Linked DNA regions of Homo sapiens: region 1 is linked to region 2. Evidence: promoter capture Hi-C in human tissues and cell types (Jung and others, 2019). All regions are on one chromosome and are shown on one strand. The core of a region is centred on a gene start or on the middle of the fragment in contact, and the rest is flanking DNA. Distances in the headings are between cores, read along the strand shown. Region 1 overlaps REC114 (REC114 meiotic recombination protein). Region 2 holds the start of HCN4 (hyperpolarization activated cyclic nucleotide gated potassium channel 4).

The links. The method cuts DNA at HindIII sites, captures the fragments that hold promoters and counts their contacts. A contact is called where the count stands out against the background at its distance.
Region 1: a contact is called between a fragment that was not itself captured here and the fragment with the promoter of HCN4 in region 2, in 1 of the 25 tissues and cell types used here (heart left ventricle).

What each region holds. Positions count from the first base shown.
Region 1 is chr15:73,530,387-73,533,086 of GRCh38, forward strand. All of the region lies in intron 2 of REC114 (REC114 meiotic recombination protein), which reads left to right. Among named protein-coding and RNA genes, the nearest start is that of NPTN-IT1, 38 kb to the right of the region's middle. The HindIII fragment of the contact is 4,245 bases long and covers 1-2,700 here.
Region 2 is chr15:73,367,603-73,370,302 of GRCh38, forward strand. It overlaps HCN4 (hyperpolarization activated cyclic nucleotide gated potassium channel 4), which reads right to left and starts at 1,356. Exons shown (of 8, transcript NM_005477.3): 1 at 1-1,356. The coding sequence starts at 668. The HindIII fragment of the contact is 7,967 bases long and covers 1-2,700 here.

The DNA of each region.
Region 1 (2,700 bases), core at 121-2,620, 160 kb after region 2:
TGTGGTGGCTTATGCCTATAATCCCATCACTTTGGGAGGCCCAGGCTGGAAGATTGCTTGCGACCAGCCCGTACAACATAGCGAGACCCCATCTCTACAAAAAAATTTAAAATTAGCTGGGCATGGTGGTGCATGCCTATGGTCCCAGCTATTCAGGAGGCTGAGGTGGGAGGACTGCTTGAGCCCAGGAGATCAAGGCTGCAGTGAGTTATCATCGTACCACTGCACTCCATCCTTGGCAACAGAGCAAAACTCTGTCTCCAGAAAAAAGAAAATGTAATTTTAGAAATCCCAATCTTTTGCTTTGTTTTCCCTCTTCACATCGTTGTCTTCATATTTGTAGCAATTCTCTTATCATGGATTTTTTTTTTTCTGTTTTCAGTGAAATTTGATCCTCACAAACTGAGCTCCAGGATAGTGAGTCAGAAACACAACCCTGAAGCTTAAGCCAGGGTCTAATTTTTAAATAAATCACCTGGCACCAAAACACCTTCTCACATTCATCAAGAAGCGCTTTTGGTGTTCTGGGCCTGGGGACGAGGTGCACTGTGAAATGATCAGTCATCCAGTTACTTTTGTAACCTGATTCTCCTATGCTGTTTTCCTCTGAATCAGGGTTTTAACAGCAGGTGTGAACATTTAGAATTGTCATTTTCATAAAAATAAAATGCTGTTTTCTTCAAAGCATTTACAAAATCATAATGGGAAGATTTTAAAGCTAATTTACCTAGCTAAATGCCAGTGACACCCCATGATATTCTCCTGGCTTCCTTGCCCAAACTGGTAGGTGAAGTCAGAACTGAGGGGTGTCTGAGGTACTAATGGAACTAGCTCAATGGCAGAGTCAACAGCAAGGGAAACAGACTCAGTAGGGTTAAGGGCACAGGTAGTTTTTCCCACCATCTTTGGACTTCAGATTGTGTACATCTTATCTGTGCATCCATTTTCTTAGGTACTTTTCTCCCTTTCGTTGATGGCTTCCTTTTTATCTCTATGGCAAGTCTTCATTATGTATGATAGCAGGGGCCACGGAGTGCATGGATGACCACAATTTAGAAACGCACTTCATAATTTATAATGCATGAAAAGCAAAGCTTGAGATTCTCTTTATATGAAGTGTAGTGTGGCGCCCCATCTTGGTGGCATTCTGGCCACTGCCCCTCAGGCTGTGCCAGAACTGGGCAAATTAAGGGATGGGTCAAAGTGTGTTAGGAGGAAATGGGGGTGTCAACCATGTGCCAGAAATTGGCCCTCTTTCATTCAACAGACATGCTGGGCACAAAGATGAATGTACCCCAGTTCTTGATCTCATGAAGTTTGCAGTGAGGTGTAGGGGCTACAAAAAGAAGACAGGGTAGAAGCAACAGCCAGCCATTGCAGGGCACAGCACCTCCTGCTGCTAGACTCCATGCAGATTTGACAGCCCTTATTTCTACTCCATCCCTGTGCATCACCTGACACCATTGACAAGTTTCTCTGCTGGAAACTCTCACCCCTCTTAGCTTCCACATTACTCTGTCCTGGACATTAATTCTTGGTATTGGCTCTTGTTCTTTTGTCTGATGGTAAATTAGCATTTCCTAGAGTTCTCCACTCTTTTTTTTTTTTTTTTAATACTTTAAGTTTTAGGGTACATGTGCACATTGTGCAGGTTAGTTACATATGTATACATGTGCCATGCTGGTGAGCTGCACCCACTAACTCGTCATCTAGCATTAGGTATATCTCCCGATGCTATCCCTCCCCCCTCGCCCCACCCCACAACAGTCCCCAGAGTGTGATATTCCCCTTCCTGTGTCCATGTGATCTTATTGTTCAGTTCCCACCTATGAGTGAGAATATGCGGTGTTTGGTTTTTTGTTCTTGCGATAGTTTACTGAGAATGATGATTTCCAATTTCATCCATGTCCCTACAAAGGACATGAACTCATCATTTTTTATGGCTGCATAGTATTCCATGGTGTATATGTGCCACATTTTCTTAATCCAATCTATCATTGTTGGACATTTGGGTTGGTTCCAAGTCTTTGCTATTGTGAATAGTGCCACAGTAAACATACGTGTGCATGTGTCTTTATAGCAGCATGATTTATAGTCCTTTGGGTATATACCCAGTAATGGGATGGCTGGGTCAAATGGTATTTCCAGTTCTAGATCCCTGAGGAATCGCCACACTGACTTCCACAATGGTTGAACTAGTTTACAGTCCCACCAACAGTGTAAAAGTGTTCCTATTTCTCCACATCCTCTCCAGCACTAGCAAGGCAGGCCAACGTTCAGATTCAGGAAATACAGAGAATGCCACAAAGATACTCCTCGAGAAGAGCAACTCCAAGGCACATAATTGTCAGATTCACCAAAGTTGAAATAAAGGAAAAAATGTTAAGGGCAGCCAGAGAGAAAGGTCGGGTTACCCTCAAAGGGAAGCCCATCAGACTAACAGCGGATCTCTCGGCAGAAACCCTACAAGCCAGAAGAGAGTGGGGGCCAATATTCAACATTCTTAAAGAAAAGAATTTTCAACCCAGAATTTCATATCCAGCCAAACTAAGCTTCATAAGTGAAGGAGAAATTAAATACTTTACAGACAAGCAAATGCTGAGAGATTTTGTCACCACCAGGCCTGCCTTACAAGAGCTCCTGAAGGAAGCACTAAACATGGAAAGGAACAACCGGTACCAGCTGCTGCAAAATCATGCC
Region 2 (2,700 bases), core at 106-2,605:
TGGAGCATGGCCCCGAACTGGCGCTGCATGAAGCCGGCCTGGCCCAGGCGCACCTCGGCCTCCGGGAGGATCTGGTCGCCGGCAGCCGCGCCTCCCTCCACTTTGATAGCGGTGTCCACCGAGGGCTGCTCGCAGGAGGCGGAGGCCGGCTGCGGTGGCTGCTGGGGCGGCGGCGGCGAGGCTGCGGGCTGCGCCGAGGCGCCGGGGCGCTCGGGCTCGGCCGCCAGGCCTGGGGGCGTCCTGTCCTCGCCGGGGGACGCGTCGCCCTCGGCGATGAGCCGCCGCTCCTCCGCGGAGTCATGCAGGTGTCCGTGACTGCTGCCGCTCCCCGTGCCGCCGCTGCCGCCGCCCCGGCTGCCCAGCGAGGCCAGGCTCCCGCGGAAGCGCCTGCAGTCGCCGTTCGTGCTGGACTTGCCCGCGCCGCGGGCCGGCCCTTCGCTGTCCGCTGCCCCGAGGGCCGAGCTCCGGGACTCCGTGCCACCCGCGGCCGCCGAGGGGGAGGGCGAGGGCAGTGGCCGCAGCCGGATGCTCCTGCGGCTGGGGTCTTGGCGGCCCCCGGCCCCCTCCTCCTCGGCGTCCTCTTCCTCGTCCATGATCCACGCCTTGGCCCCCACCTGCTGCGGGAGGCTGTAGAGCCGCTTGCGCATGGACGGCGGCAGCTTGTCCATGGCGCCAGGGGCCGGGGTCGGACCGGGCCGGGGGCAGGAGCGCGGCGCCGCGGACGGGCTCCAGGTCCGCCCGCCGGTCAGTCCGCCCGTGGGGACGCGTCCTTTGCCGCCGGCGTGGGGGCAGCCTCAGGCGCCCATGCTTGGGCAGGCTGCGCGCCGCGGGGAGGATCCTAGTCCCGCTCCGAGTCCCCGGGCTCGCCGCGCTACACCTCCTCCCGGGCCCGGCTGGGCGCGGGGACCCCGCGCTCCCTTCTTGCCTCCCTCCCTCCCTCTGGCGTTCAGGGGCGCGGCGCGCCGCCCGGCTCCAGGCGCCCCGCCCCCGCGGGGAACAATGGGCGCCGGCCGGAGAGGCTCTGCGGCCGCGGCGCTCAGGGAACCGCTCCGGAGTGCAGAGCGCACGGCCCGCGCGGGTCCCGGGCGTGCGTCCCGCGGGAGGGCTGGCTGTCCGTCTGTCTCGCCGCCCGGGCTTTGTGGCTGGCCACCCGCGAGCTCGCCTCGCCTCCTCTGCCCCGGCCCGTCCGGCCCGTCCCGGGGCTCCCGCCGCAACCGAGCGGAGCCCAGCGACCCGCCGGGCTTACATCAGCGGCCGCCTCCCCCGAAGCGCCCTCCGGCAGCGCTCGGGCTCCCGCGCCCCGGAATATTCATGAAGCCGCCGCAGCTCGCGGGTTGCCATAGGAGCGGCTCCAGCAGCCGGGCCTGCCTACCTGGGCTTCTTAAAGGGGCAGCGGCGCACGGGCCGGGGGCTGGAAAGGGGCGGGGGGCGGGCCTGGCAAGGGGCCCAGGTTAGACCCTCGCTAGACCTTCGGGGCCGGGGTGAGAGGTATCCACACTGCTGCGCCCTTAAATCTCTTTCCTGGGCTAAGCTGGGAGTGCGCCCCAAGTCTGAAGCTCCGGCTTCAGTTGCGAATTCCCCATCCTAAGATTGAAGGGTGGGGGGTGGCTTCCCAATTTCTCCATCACCAAGCTCTGGGCTCGCCTTTCCCTGGCATTTTTGCCCCTCAGCTGGGTCTCCGACTTTCCTCTTGGGAGGCGACCGGGTTCGTCTGGATGCAGAGTCCCGGCCTTCCCGCAACCCTCCTGGAGAGGGGGCTTCCGGAAATGCGCCGCGTCGGGGAGGCTCCCACGGTTTTCCTGTGACATGGGCAGGGTGCGAACCCCGCGCCAGTCTTTCCCCTGCAAAGCCTCGCAGCAGCCAGGCAAGGAGGGCGTGGGGAAACAGGGAGACACGCACAGGGCGCGCGGGTGGGACCCAGCCCTTCGAGGTAAGACTTCGAGGAAATGCGCCGGCAACAGTGACGGATGCGAGATCCGAACGCCGACCTCCGCACGCGCCTCTCCCTCGGTAGTTCCGAGAAAGGGACAAGCCGGCTGCAGCGGGGAGCGGTTGGGCCGGTTCCTCGGACGCCCCAGCACTCTGGAACTGGCTTTGGAGCCCCTTCTCCCTGTGTTCCCATCCACATTATGACACCTACTATGTGGACCCACGCTGGGTGAGTTCCTGTTCCACCCAGTCCCCTACCTGCACCCCCAAGCAGCTGCACAGCCCCCACTCCCTTCCAGTCTGCAGCCCAGCCCCCTTCCCCCCAACCCCCGCCAAGGATCCAACTGTGTGTCCTCTCTCCCAGTCTCTCCCAGTGTACAGTGTCCGGGCTTATGGACAGATTTCACTAGCTCAGCCTAAGGTATAGCCCTACCCCCTCCAACACCATGGACAGCCTGATACCCCAGATTAGCTCAGAAATGGATAGGGGGACAGATTGGGCATTAAGGGGAGGGGAGTTGTCCAGAGAAGGCTGGAGCCGAGGTTAATGCTGGAGCGGACACACAGCAAAGTCTCACAGGAGGGAGGCAAAAAGGTCCCCTGGCTCTGCCATCTCTCTGAGGAATAACATCAAGTTTTTCTTCAAATGATTTTTTTACTCTCATTCTTAGCCCAATGTGACCACTTTCGCCTCCTCCATCCAGAGTAGGAATTTGGAGAGCAGGATGCGGGGCGGGCAGCCTAGCAGGGGCTCTTCTGCTCTACCCACTG